Regions from separate parts of the Homo sapiens genome. Here all the other regions are linked to region 5. Evidence: promoter capture Hi-C in 16 types of primary human blood cells and fetal thymus (Javierre and others, 2016). All regions are on one chromosome and are shown on one strand. Each heading gives the region's core, a stretch centred on a gene start or on the middle of the fragment in contact. The rest is flanking DNA. Distances are from core to core; before and after follow the strand shown.

Evidence for each region. Contacts are between HindIII fragments. The CHiCAGO score rates a contact against its expected background, and 5 or more counts as called.
Region 1: a fragment that was not itself captured here is called in contact with the fragment with the promoter of RAB12 in region 5 in 1 of 17 cell types (naive CD8 T cells); the score reaches 5.9 in naive CD8 T cells.
Region 2: a contact is called between a fragment that was not itself captured here and the fragment with the promoter of RAB12 in region 5, in 1 of 17 cell types (naive B cells). The highest score is 6.2, in naive B cells.
Region 3: a contact is called between the fragment with the promoter of TWSG1 here and the fragment with the promoter of RAB12 in region 5, in 11 of 17 cell types (activated CD4 T cells, total CD4 T cells, naive CD8 T cells and 8 more). The highest score is 16.0, in activated CD4 T cells.
Region 4: a contact is called between a fragment that was not itself captured here and the fragment with the promoter of RAB12 in region 5, in 5 of 17 cell types (total CD4 T cells, naive CD8 T cells, activated CD4 T cells and 2 more). The highest score is 9.4, in total CD4 T cells.

The regions. Positions count from the first base shown.
Region 1 is chr18:9,575,480-9,578,179 of GRCh38, forward strand. It overlaps PPP4R1 (protein phosphatase 4 regulatory subunit 1), which reads right to left. Exons shown (of 20, transcript NM_001042388.3): 10 at 1,585-1,712. Among named protein-coding and RNA genes, the nearest start is that of PPP4R1, 38 kb to the right of the region's middle. The HindIII fragment of the contact is 828 bases long and covers 1,005-1,832 here.
Region 2 is chr18:9,187,472-9,190,171 of GRCh38, forward strand. The region is part of intron 2 of ANKRD12 (ankyrin repeat domain 12); the gene reads left to right. Among named protein-coding and RNA genes, the nearest start is that of ANKRD12, 52 kb to the left of the region's middle. The HindIII fragment of the contact is 181 bases long and covers 1,344-1,524 here.
Region 3 is chr18:9,333,414-9,336,113 of GRCh38, forward strand. It overlaps TWSG1 (twisted gastrulation BMP signaling modulator 1), which reads left to right and starts at 1,360. Exons shown (of 5, transcript NM_020648.6): 1 at 1,360-1,507. It overlaps TWSG1-DT (TWSG1 divergent transcript), which reads right to left and starts at 1,056. Exons shown (of 3, transcript NR_183523.1): 1 at 724-1,056. RefSeq lists a silencer at 1,061-1,850 and enhancers at 1,648-2,148, 1,911-1,960. The HindIII fragment of the contact is 11,774 bases long and covers 1-2,700 here.
Region 4 is chr18:9,516,661-9,519,360 of GRCh38, forward strand. It overlaps RALBP1 (ralA binding protein 1), which reads left to right. Exons shown (of 10, transcript NM_006788.4): 3 at 185-643. It also overlaps the pseudogene RNU2-27P. Among named protein-coding and RNA genes, the nearest start is that of RALBP1, 42 kb to the left of the region's middle. The HindIII fragment of the contact is 156 bases long and covers 1,365-1,520 here.
Region 5 is chr18:8,608,093-8,610,792 of GRCh38, forward strand. RAB12 (RAB12, member RAS oncogene family) reads left to right here and starts at 1,345. Exons shown (of 6, transcript NM_001025300.3): 1 at 1,345-1,861. The coding sequence starts at 1,348. RefSeq lists silencers at 1,173-1,402, 1,833-2,132 and an enhancer at 2,583-2,632. The HindIII fragment of the contact is 24,115 bases long and covers 1-2,700 here.

The DNA.
Region 1 (2,700 bases), core at 169-2,668, 970 kb after region 5:
AGCCAGGAATGCTCTCTTTCCCCTACCATATCATTAACATAATTTAATAAGCTCTAATATTACTGAAGATCAGCAATACAAGTAGTATTGCCTGGACATTAAGACATACCTCATTACAATGGAAGAAGAATCAAGGAATTGAACTACCTTTAAATAGCTATTGCAGTAATGCTACACACCGGTAGGCGGCAAACATGGCCTTGATAGGCACACTGTTGAGGTCAGTGAAGTTTTACTGGAACACAGCCAAGCTTGTCCATTTATGTAATGTCTACGGCTGCTTATACACTGCAAAGGCCGAGTGAGTAGTTGTGAAACAGAAGAAAGTTTACCAGCTCGTCCTATACAGTTCTCTGCAAATTTATAGTTTCTTACTAGACCCATTTCAGATTTTAAAACAGAAGTTATGTAACAGTCTTCAGTATAAACAGGTAATTTTTTAAGTATGCTGATTTCAAAAATGAAAAATAGATAACATTCCCCACCCACCATCATCACTTTTGTCAAAGTCCTGGCAGCACCTGTTTTCAAAAAAACTGACAGACTTTGCTTGCTAGGAAGACAGGTTTGAGTGATTTTCTTCCTTTACAAAAAACAGTACCTCAGGTTTGTTTGGCTATTCAGCAGGACAGTAGGAGAACGGGCAAAAAGGTAAAACAAGGCAGCAGAGAAGAAAGAAGAACTGCCAAATCAAAACACCAAGAAAGCAAATAGCACAGTATCAAGACCTACAGAAGAAAATGTCCATTAGCATCATGACAAGGGAGGGAAAAGACACTATGGTAACTCAAGCATTATAGCAGGGACTGTTTCAAATATTTGTACTAAAATTACTTCAAGTGCATAACTGTAAAAGTTTGTGTACATTTCCCGCATACTAGTAAGTTAGGCTTGAATTAGTTTTTCCCCTAAATATATATTATAATAAATTTTTAAAATTTAAATTTAATAGAAAATTTTCAATGCAAAAACATTTAAAAATAAAAATCACAGCCGACTCTTTAAGCTTTATTTAAAACTTTGGTTTCCTTATGAGACTGATATACTTAAAACTGATATACTGGCTAATATACTGGCTTTCTCCTTTAACTGACAGATTACAATCACCATTGACAAAGAATCCAAGATGCGCAACTAAATTATTTGACAGAAAAGGACAATAAAACATATTCCTAAATTAAGTTTTACTCCTTAAAAACAAATTTAAAAAAACCCAAATACTACACAGTGTGTAACAATTACCCTGTATATTGTAGATATCAATGAATGATTGACTAAATAATGTACTAAATAAACATTTTTTAAAAGTCATAATCTACCATTTAGAGTTTCCTATGTGCGAGGCATCTAGCTAATTGTGTTACATGCATCTACTCATTCAATATGTAACCAACCAAAGAGATACTTAACAAACAAATGCGCTTAAAGTAAAGCTCTATAAAAATATTCACCAATTTTTATATTCAAGAGAAATAGCAAACTATCAAAAAATAACATTTGTTGCAGAATAGTGGAAATAATGTTTAAAAGCAGTAAAATTAGAAAACAAGGTTTTAAAATTAGAAAATGGTTTCAAAATTATACCTATTTTTGTTTTCTACTGACATCTCTTCTGAACTTTTGCTTTCTTCTTTAAAATACTGGCCTGAGCTAGATGGATTAGCAAAAGTAGATATGAAAGGTCCCAGAGACTGAAAAGCTGCTTGGCGAACCTAGGAAGATAAAAAGGACAATAATAAAGGAATCATTTTGAAAAAGAATTATATACGCACACATTATGTATATTTAATAATCTACTTTCAAATGCCGAAGTATGTTTAGGATAATAATGAAGCTTTTCTAAAGGAAGCCCAGATTCAGAACTTTAGCTAGGACTGAAAAATTCTTACAAGCTATTTTCTCTGGCTGGGCGCAGTGGCTCATGCCTGTAATCCCAGCACTCTGGGAGGCTGAGCTGGGCAGATCGCTTGAGTCCAGCAGTTTGAGACCAGCCTGGGCAACATGGCGAAATCCAGTCTCTACAAAAAATACCAAAGTTAGCAGGGCGTGGTGGCGCATGCCTGTGGTCCCAGCTACTCGGCAGGGCCTGAGGTGGAAGAAGCGCGTGAACCCATGAGGCTAAGTCTGTAGTGAGCCGTGATCACACCACTGTACTCCAGCCTGGGTGACAGAGCAAGACTGTCTAAAAAAAAAACCCCAAACAAACCCCTATTTGCTCTTTTTTACTTTCAATTGTTTTTATCCTCTCTTGAATGTTTGAACCATGATAATCTAAGTATGAGATACTATGAAACATTTGCATAGAACAAAACTAAAGAAGGTCCTGCTGTGTTCTCAAGAACAAAAAGAATAAGGAAAACCAAGAGTGCCACAAAGAACATAAAAATCAATAAAGCCAACAAAATGTGATAAATACATTTAATGTTTTCAGGTAGGAAAGACTTTAATTTGTTCACTAGAAGGAAGCAAGACAGACGTACCAGAAACATAATGTTAACTTAAAGTATGTCACAAAGATCTTGAAGCATATACTATTGTTCTTGATGACTGTCTCATGTAGGAGGGGTGATAAAGAAGTTATAGAATTCCACTTCATGTCGTATTTCTGTATTATTTTTAAAATCAGGAATTTTTAAAACATTTGAAAATGAGAGGTTTTATGGAAGGATGGACACAATCGGACAAAGGCAACAACAATGG
Region 2 (2,700 bases), core at 184-2,683, 580 kb after region 5:
TGACAGAATATTGCTGTTATGAGGTCCTAAATTAATAAAATAACCTAAACCAAAATTTCACTCCTTAAATTCATTTAAGTAGAGCATAACTTAAGTAATTGTATTTTATAGCAATTTAATTTTTATGTAAAGTCCTCTCATTAAATATTAAAATAGTTAGGATTTTGACAAGAATGTTCACACCTTTCACTGCTCATCTGTGGTCTTTTCCCCCCATTGATTCTAGTTTAGTTTAGAAATGTCTCCACTACTCTTTTAGCTATAAATCAGTATTTAAAATTTGCAAAGCAGAATCTTTTATAAACTCTGTTAAGATAGTCTAAAACCTGGTTAAATTCATAAAATGTGAGAGAGGGGATATTAATTATTTTAACCATCTGAATAGTTCTGTTATATCCTTTTCGTCATCAGTGTAGTTCAGACATTCATTATTTCCTCTCCAAGTGACTATTGAGAATTTTTTCTTTTATTATCCAAGTATTATAATACATGTTTGTTGTAAAAAATTAGAAAATACATATAAGAATAATGAAAATAGAAATTACCTATTACCTTGTCAACAACTGTGAAGGTTCTGAGATTTTACCCTACTTGTAAGCTAATTAGCTTCATGGATGCTGGCAGAAGACACAATTCCTAGGTCAGTGATGAAGGAATATTTGCTATTCAGCAATAGCAGTAGCCAGAGTATCATTGTTTGTGCCTGTTCCCTGAGCCTCGCTTCTCACAAGGGGGATGCAGTGATGGGCAGATGACAACTGCATATGCAGTGGGTTGTATTACAGGGTAGGAACCCCAAATCTTTTATGATGGGCAGTAAGTCTGCCTGAACTTTTCCCTAGAAGGAGACATTATTACACTGGACAGCAAACAGGTATGTCCTTAGCTTTAGAGGGAGACACTACCTCTGTCTTTCGAGGCTGTTTATCATACAAATACCCATGAAAAGATAGTCCAGGACAAAGGAAATTAGTGTGTCTGCTCGCAACATGTGCAAAAATGCAAGAGAGACATGGAGAATTATGTCCCAACACAGCTGTAATGGCACCACCTACAGATAGCTATTAACATTTTGGTTTACAGGCATACCTCATTTTATTGCACTTCACTTTATTGTGCTTTGCAGATAATTGTGCTTTTTACAAATTGAAGGTTAGTGGCAACCCTGTGTTGAGCAAGTTCATTGGCAACATTTTTCCAACAGCATGTACTCACTTGTCTCTATGTCACATCTTGATAATTTTCATATTTCCAACTTTTTCATTATCATGATGATGATTAGTGATCTTTGTTACTGTTGTAGTTGTTTTGTGGGCACCACACTGTATGCAGAAAAGATGGCAAGCTTAATGTTGTATGTGTTCTACTGCTCCACTTACTGGCTTCTCTCCCAACTCCGCCCCTCCTTGGGCCTTCCTATTTCCTAAAACAACAATTTTGAAATTGTTGTGTTTCAGTGGTCTCTAAGTATTCAAGTGAAGAGTGGAATGTCTCTCATTTTAAGTCAAAAGCTCTAAATGATTAAGCTTAGTGAGGAAGGTATGTCAAAGGCTGAGAGAGGTCAAAAGCTAGGCCTCTTGTGCCAGTTAACCAAGAGAGGAATGCCAAGGAAAAGTTCTTGAAGAACACTAAAAGTGCTGTTAAAGTGAACACACCATAAGAAAGCAAAACAGTCTTATTGCTGATATGGAGGAAGTTTGGAGTGGTCTGGATAGAAGATCAAACCAGCTACAACATCCCCTTAAACCAAAGTTCAATCCAGATCAAGGCCCTCTCCTCAATTCTGTGAAGGCTGAGAGAGGTTTGGAAGCTGCAGAAGAAAAGTCTGAAGCTAGCATAAGTTGGTTCATGAGGTTTAAGGAAAGAAGCTGTCTCCATAACATAAAAGTGCAAGGTGAAGCACCAAGTGCTAATGTGGAAGCTACAGCAAGTTATCCAGAAGATCTAGCTATGATCTTTGATGAAGATGGCTACACTAAACTACAGATTTCAGTATAGATGAAATAGCCTTCTATTGGAAAAAGATACCATGTAGGACTTTGAAAGCTAGAGAGGAGAAGTCAATCCCTGGCTTCAAAGCTTCAGAGGACAGGCTCACTGTCTTGTTAGGGACAAATGCAGCTGACAACTATTAAGTTAAAGCCAGTGCTCTTTTTCCATTGCAAAAACGCCAAGACCCATAAGAATTACGTGAAATTTACTCTGCCTGTACCTTATCAATGGAAAAACAGTGCCTAATGACAGCACATCTGTTCACAGCATGGTTTCCTGAATAGATTAAGCCTACTGTTGAGACTTACTAAGAAAAAAGGATTATTTTCAAAATATTACTGCTCATTGACAACATGTCAGTGAGCTGTCACCCAAGAGCTCTGACAGAGACATACAAAGAGAATAATGTTGTTTTCATGGCTGCTGACATGCAGTCCATTCTGCAGCCCATAGGTCAAGGAATAATTTTAACTTTTTAAACAAGTCTTATTAAAGAAGTATGCTTTGTAAGGCTGTAGCTGCCATAGAGAGTGATTCCTCTGATGGATTTGGGCAAAAAAATTGAAAACCATCTTGAAAGGATTCACCATTTTAGATGCCATTAAAAACATTTGTGATTCATGAGAGGAAGTCAAAATACCAATATTAACCAGAGTTTGGAAAAGTTGATTCTAACACTCATGGATGACTGAGAGGGTCAAGACTTTA
Region 3 (2,700 bases), core at 110-2,609, 730 kb after region 5:
TAGGCATTTACGATTTACCAGCATAAGGGTTTGACACTAGGTCATCATTTCCAAGGGAAGGTGCCCCGCGGACGGTCTGGTCTAGCGGGCTCTAACTTAATCACCCTGGAATCTTCTTTAAAAAGCAAATTCCGGCCGGGCACTATGGTTCACACCTGTCATCCCAACGATTTAGGAGACCGCGGTGGGAGGATCGCTTGAGCCCCGAAATTTGAAACCAGCTTGGGCAACATAGCAAGACCTCCATATCTACAAAAAAATAAAATATTAGCCAGGCGTGGTGGTGCGCGCCCGTAGCCCCAGCTACTCGGGAGGCTGAGGCGGGAGGATTGCTTGAGCCTAGGAGGTGGAGGCTGCAGCGAGCCTGATGTTGTCACTGCCCTCCAGCCTGGTGAGAGTGAGACCTTGTCTCAAAAGAAAAAAAAAAAAAAGCAACCCAGAGTTGTGGGAAAGAACTGAGTGTCATTCTCAATGTTTTTAACCTACGTGCTAACCGCGCACCTTCTACCTAGGCTGCGCGACCTCCGCGCCCGGATCCATGGCGCCCCCTCTTCTCGACTCCCGATGCAGAGCTCCGATGCAGAGCTCAGCGCCAGCCACTCACAAGGAGCCTGGCAAGTTTTATCGAATTGGTGAACGAAGTTCGAAAGCTCTACCCTTGGAGATCCTTATTCAGTAGGTCTGAGGTAGACCTAGGAAACGCGCATTTTATATAAATCCTACCTCTGACGGCAAACGACAAGGGGTTCACGTGCCAGCTCTCCTCGGCGACGCGCTAGGCTACTCAGCGCCCCGAGCCTCGGCCTCGCATCGCTAGAACCCGGCCATGGCCGCTTCCTTACAGGGCAGCTGTGAGGAGTCCTGAGGAATTTTAGTACACGGCATATCCTCAGCGTAGTGGCTAGCACATCACAAGGCTTTAATCTTAACACTGTTGATCTTAACACTGCAACTGAGGGGGCCCGGAGAATGGGCCTGACAGGAGGGTCTGTCGGAACCTGAGGGACTGGGGATCCCGGTGCGGAGAAGCGCGAAGGGAAATCGCGTTGAGCAGCTGGGGTGGGTGCGCCTGGGGGCGTGGCCTGCGGGCCGGCGGGCGGGCGGGAGCCTGCGGTGGAGGCGTGGCACGAGGGAGGGGCGAAACCGGGTGGCGCGGAGGGGGCGTGGCGTTGGGAGGGGCGGGGGGAGTGGGCGGGGCCGAGATGGGGGCGTGCGCGCTGACAGGAGCGCCGGGGGAGTGAGAGACGCCTCCTGGCGGGAGCTGGCGGCTGTGGACCCCAGCGGGGGCGGAGGGGAAGAGGGGAGCAGGGGCGGGGAGCAAGGAGCCGGGAGGAGGGCGGCGGGCGGGCCTGTCTCTTTAAGGTGCCCGAGGCTCGCGGGCGCTGCGCTGAGGGGACGGCGGGAGGCGCGGCCTGGCCTCGCACTCAAAGCCGCCGCAGCGCGCCCCGGGCTCGGCCGACCCGGCGGGGATCTAGGGGTGGGCGACTTCGCGGGACCGTGGCGCATGGTGAGTGGGAGCGGCTGGGGGGTTGTGCAGCCTCTTGGCCTCTTGGTTGGGAAGGGGCCGGGCGCCGAGCTCGGCCCTCTAGAGGCCCGGGGCCGCGGCGAGCTTCGCGGGGGCCGGGAGAAGCCTGGGCCCGGCTGCGCGGAGGACAAAGTGGGGGTGCTGGGCGCGGGCGCACAGGCCGGACGCCGGGAGCCAGCAGCATCTCTGCGCCGCTTTGGTCCAGACCATCTCTGGGCCGGCCCGCGTCCTCCGCAGCCCGCGTCGGCCGAGCCGGGGTGGGGGTGGTTCCGGGTGCCCGGTCCCCCACACCGCTACCGGCCTCTGCCTCGCGGGGCGTCCGGCGCCTTCGGGGCCCTGGCACCGCTCTACAGAGGCTCGGCTCTGCCCTGGTCGCTGTCAGTGCCATCTCCCTTAACGAGAAACTTGGGCGTGATGTATGCGAAACAATTTTGATGCATGATGGTTTCTAACTCCTTAGGAAAAGATAAGTCCTTTAATTCTATTACCTGATTTCGACATGGTCGTAGTTACTTGAATACTTTTTCCAGTGAAATTTGGGGAGTAAGATGAATTTGTGGAACATTTCATAAGACAACCGTAAAAGATGGGAAAGGGGGGAAATCCCAGTTTTCATGGTTGTAGGATGAAAACTAGTTCCACGACAGTTAGTCTCCAAATAACCTTATTTGGCCTCCGCAAATATGTACTGGTTGCTCCAGAAATCATCCTACTTGGTATGCGGCGTTAGATACATTAGAAAATTAGTTACTAACGGTCTTTAGGGAATGCTTTGTGAGCCTCAGTAACGATCACCAGGGTTTTCTCTTTCAAAATTGACTCATACCAGGTCCAAAGCCCTTTATTCTTTTCACCCTTTTATTATTTTTCCTTTAATGTACTTTGTAACACTTAGAATAAAAGTTTAGAGTAATCATAAATGCCCCCATAAACTCACTATTTATCCCTCTTACGTCAGTAGTCATTTATTTTAATTTATTATGTTTGATAGGGAGGTGTTTTAACCTGAAGAAATGATATCTTCCCGTATTTAAAGTTTAATAACTGTATACTGTTTGGCCCCTGTCAGACTGTGTTTGTGCTAGTCTTTTTTCCTTCTTCTTTTTGAACTGTAGTATCTTCTTAATAACTTTGAAGAATGTGTGGTACTAATAGAATTAAAAGAATATCTTGGC
Region 4 (2,700 bases), core at 193-2,692, 910 kb after region 5:
CATCTCTTTTTGAGAAGAAACCCATTTCTTTGCTGGGAGTGCCCAGGAGGAATTGGCCAAGAAGTGAAAAGCTAGATTAGCTGGTGCCAGGTGGCACCGTTTTTTGGTTCTGTTTTTAGAAAGCATATGGACAGTTTGACATTAAACAAACATATAACTTATACTGTCTCTGTTTCTTTGGCAGCTGAAGGCTATGCAGCCTTTCAGGAAGATAGCTCTGGAGATGAGGCAGAAAGTCCTTCTAAAATGAAGAGGTCCAAGGGAATCCATGTTTTCAAGAAGCCCAGCTTTTCTAAAAAGAAGGAAAAGGATTTTAAAATAAAAGAGAAACCCAAAGAAGAAAAGCATAAAGAAGAAAAGCACAAAGAAGAAAAACATAAAGAGAAGAAGTCAAAAGACTTGACAGCAGCTGATGTTGTTAAACAGTGGAAGGAAAAGAAGAAAAAGAAAAAGCCAATTCAGGAGCCAGAGGTGCCTCAGATTGATGTTCCAAATCTCAAACCCATTTTTGGAATTCCTTTGGCTGATGCAGTAGAGAGGACCATGATGTATGATGGCATTCGGCTGCCAGCCGTTTTCCGTGAATGTATAGATTACGTAGAGAAGTATGGCATGAAGTGTGAAGGCATCTACAGAGTATCAGGTACTGGGAATGTGCACTTCACTTGATGGTTTTTAATAATAACTTCAGTTTCATTTTTCGAAGGAAGAAAAATTATTGTGAGGAAAATTTGGCCTGGATCCTAAGCCTTATTCATTTCCTTGATCCTACCAGTTGCACAAAAATCCACCCCTCTCCCCAGCCTTTCTTTGGTGTTCTGGCATTTGTTTTTTTAATATTTCCTTCCATTAGGAGGATTTCACGTTAGTTGTTCATAGCTTGCAGCAGCCAGGACTAAAACAAAGTGAAGTATACTGGCAGCATTGCTTAACAGGGCTGCATTCAGACCCTGCTTTTTTTTTTCTTTTGTTTGTTTGTTTTTTTGAGACAGAGTCTCGCTCTGTTGCCCAGGCTGGAGTGCAGTGGCGTGATCTCGGCTTACTGCAACCTCTGCCTCCTGGGTTCAAGCGATTCCCCTGCCTCAGGCTCCTGAGTAGCTGGGATTACAGGCGCCTGCCGCCACACCCAGCTAATTTTTGTATTTTTAGTAGAGGCAGGGTTTCACCATGTTGGTCAGGCTGGTCTCGAACCCCTGACCTCAGATGATCTGCCCTCCTCGGCCTCCCAAAGTGCTGGGATTACAGGAGTGAGCCACCACTCCCAGGCGCCTGCTTTTTTTTTTTTTTTTTTCTTTCCTCTCTAAGCAGAGGCTCAGTGGTATGAGGGCCATCAGCAAGAAAAGAAAGGTTAACTGTGTGAAGGAAGCTTCTTGGCCAAGAGACACGTTTATGGACACAGTCATATAATGCATTTCCTTAGCTCAGCTAAGAGGCATGACATGGTTTTGGTTTTGGTTTTCTTGGTGCGCGGTTCTTAGAGTTAGTGCAGTACCCGGTCAATACATGGAGTGGTCCAAGCAAGCTTCTGTTCCATCTCCCTGCTCCAGAAATCCTAGAACAGATACTACACCCAACTTTAGCCAAAAGACCAAGAAGCAGTAAATGTTTAGGCCCCACATGTGAATGCTTTGGTCAGCTACATGCAACTATTACGTATATTAGCAAAATGGATTTTCTATTTATCTTTATTCCATATGTATACAAATTAAATTTCATACTTGGAAAGAATGTGTTTTGATTGGGTATCTAAATCAAGCAATATGTATATTATTTAAAAGTAAAAAGATTTCTTAGAAAGCGGTATGACTTTTATACCAGGATAGGATGAAAGCCCTGACCTGTAGCAGCATCTGTGTTCCAAATTATTACATTCCCATTATTCAGTGTCTTGGTACCTCATCAGTTTCTGTTTAGAGATTTGTTTTATAAAGTTAATTGTTGGCTGAGGCAGGAGGATCACTTGAACCCAGGAGTTTGAGGCTGCAGTGAGCCATGATCGTACCACTGCACTCCAGCCAGGGCGAGATTGAGACCTTGTCTCAAAAATAATAATAATAATACTTGTTGGTCACAAGTACTTTCATGATGAGTTGTTAAGTCATACACATGTGGAATATATAGAGAGATAGACTTAGTTTTTTCATTTAGTTGGTTCATACGCAATTCTAGAAGGTAGATTTGATACTTAAGTTTTGCTGAGAAAGGGCAGATATTTTTGATAATTGGGAAAACCGTTACATAATCCACTAGATTACATGCCATTATTTAAGAGTATTTTTGGTAAAATGTTACTTTTTTATAGAAAATTAAATAAATTAGGCATTGAATTTGAGTTTATAACTCCTTAGTATTATATAAATATATTTAAACAAATATTTGATTTTTATGAATAATTGGCTAGGCATGGTAGCTCACGCCTGTAATCCCGGCACTTTGGGAAGCCGAGGTGGGCAGATCACGAGGTCAGGAGATTGAGACCATCCTGGCCAACATGGCGAATCCCTGTCTGTACTAAAATACAAAAAATTAGCCAGGAGTGGTGGCGCACGCCTGTAGTCCCAGCTGCTTGGGAGGCTGAGGCAGGAGAATAGCTTGAACCCGGGAGGCAGGGGTTGCAGTGAGCAAAGATCGCGCCACTGCACTCCAGCCTGGCAACAGAGCAAGATTCTGTCTCAAAAAAAAAAAAAATAAATAAATAAT
Region 5 (2,700 bases), core at 95-2,594:
AGCCTGCGCAACAGAGCAAGGCTGTCTCAAAATCAAAACAAAACAAAATGAAAGAAAAAGAAAGAAAGAAGGAAAGAAAGAAAGTAAATTCCGTGATGGTAAGTGATGGATCTGTGTTTCAAATAATATAGAGGGATCATATTTTACATATTCTCAGAATTCATATTATAAAGATCCCTACAGTGACTGCACAGTTAAGAATGCTCTCATAGATGTAAACTTCCAATCTACACTGTGGGCAACGCTAGATTTTTACAAATCAGGTTTGCTGTGTAACATATGCGTGTACTGTGCATTACTAAACCTAGTTCTAAATACAGCACAGCTGAAATTTTGTGGGTAACGTGATCATTCGGCAAATGTTGCCAGCCCCTATCATATTCAGAACCCTGTGTTCTGAGATGCTCAAGTTCAAGCTGAGGAATTTGCTAAACAAATCTCTGGCAAGGAATCAGCAGTGATTTTCTGTATCCTTAAATCCTTCCAAACAGAAATGGCAAAACATACGACCCGAGTCCATAATTCCTAAAGTTTCAATCTTCTCGCACTGTTTGAGTTTTAACTCGCTTATTCCCCCAAAGGAGTATGCCATTTACTTAATTTAAAAATTAAACAGCATAAAAACTTCTGAACTCTGAGTGAGACAGCGATCAGAGTTAAAAATAACTGATTTCGCGCGTTTCCGTGCAAAATGGGAGACAGACGTGACGGAGAGAGACCGAGCAGTGCCACGGCCCGGTAGAGGGTGCGGGGGCTTGCACCCGCTGGTGTTTGTGAGAGAGCGCTGGTGTAGACGCGAACGCAGCGCAGGCGGCCCGGCGGCGCGGCCTCAGGTCGGGGCCTTTCCAGCGTTCCAGCTACACCGAGCGCGCGGGGGCGAAAACATGTGCATGGTGTTTGGGGACTGTGCGCATGGGAGTGTTTTCACTGTCAACCAGGGTTCTTTTTCTTATTTTGAACCCATTTTCATGATGCACCGGAATGCTGAAGTTCAAAATTGCCTACGGAGAATTTTAAGACTAAAACCACACTAAGTTTCTTGTGTTAACTATAAATGCGGGTCAGAGTGAAAGCCGAGTAGGGAGGAGTGAAAAGGGGGAAAAGGGAAGAGATAAGAGGAAGAAAAGATGAAAGAGCCGGCGGAAGAGGGAGGGAAGCGGGGGCGGGCAGGCGAGCAGAGGCAGGGAAAGAGCGGCGCGGGTTGCGGGAAAGCTCCGCGCGCAGTACCCAACCGAGGCCCGGGCGCGCGGTCCTCCCGCCGGCAGGGGGCGCCCACCCGCCCGCCTCCGGCCCCTCGCGGCCAGCCGCCCCGCCCGCGCCTGCGCTTCCTGCCCCTCCTCGTCCGGGATGCTGCTGCCGCTACTGCGGAGTAGCTGCTTCCCTTCCTCCTCTCCCGGCGGCGGCGGCGGCAGCGGCGGAGGAGGAGGAGGAGGGGACCCGGGCGCAGAGAGCCGGCCGGCGGCGCAGTTGCAGCGCGGAGCCCACGGGCCGCCGGGGCCGCTCCAGCGGGCGGAAGCCGAGCCCGGGGCCGACCCCCCGCGCGCGGCGGAGGCCGAGGGGGCGCCGGGGCCCGGGGCGCGCAGCCGGGGGGCGGGCGGCGGCGGGCGGCGGGCCGAGCGGGAGCCGCATGCGTGTATGGATCCGGGCGCCGCGCTGCAGAGGCGGGCCGGGGGCGGCGGCGGTCTGGGCGCGGGCTCCCCGGCGCTGTCGGGCGGCCAGGGCCGCCGGAGGAAGCAGCCCCCCAGGCCGGCCGACTTCAAGTTGCAGGTCATCATTATCGGCTCCCGCGGCGTGGGCAAGACCAGCCTGATGGAGCGCTTCACCGACGACACCTTCTGCGAGGCCTGCAAGTCCACCGTGGGTAAGGGCGCCACGGCGACCCTGGGCCGGGCCTCCTGGCGCCCGGGCAGGTGCCCTTCGCCCCGTGGGCTTCGAGTCTCATCGAGCCTGGGAGTCTTTCGGGGATGGGCCTCTCGGTGAAACTAGGGGCGGGGGTCTCCTTGGAGCGCCCTGCATCCCAATCCCAAAGCCTGGCAGAGGTTTTCGTGCCGCCTCCGGGCAGACCTGCCCTTGGCCCCCGGCCCTGCCTCAGAGGTCCTGGCAGCCCCCGGGGCCTGTGGGGGCGGCTCTCCACGGAAACTTCGGCCCTTAGCATACTCGCCCAAGAAAAAGCTGGGTTCGAGTGGAGCGCAGGCAGGCAGGGGAGTGAACGCCTAAGGCCGCTCTCGCCCGGCCCGCCAAGGCCAGCGCGCGCCGTCTGCTGCGGGTGTGATCCCTGCGCAACCAGGGCAGTTTTCTTATTTTGAACCCATTTTCAAGAAATGAAGTTTAAAGTCACCTATGGAGAATGTTAAAACTAAAACTACAGTAAGTTTCTCGTGCTAGCCGTACGTACGGGGCAGAGGAGCTTCAGCTGTATTTATCCATGACCTCAAACAACCCGGTGACTGGCGGGCATGGGGTTGATTCCTCCAGTACCGCTGTTTTCGGTGAGGGACAGGAGTGAAGTAAGTACAGGAACGCTCCAGGGTCAAGGAGGAAAACAGCCGTGGATCTGAAATGGAAACTGCAGGGGAAATTTTTTTAATTAAGTCATGCTTAGAGGACTTGACATTGAGATTTCTCAGTTGGATGTGGGTAGCAGTTGTTTCTATGGAAAACCCCTTAAAAGATGTCCAAACTAGGAGAACCCCGTTCTTT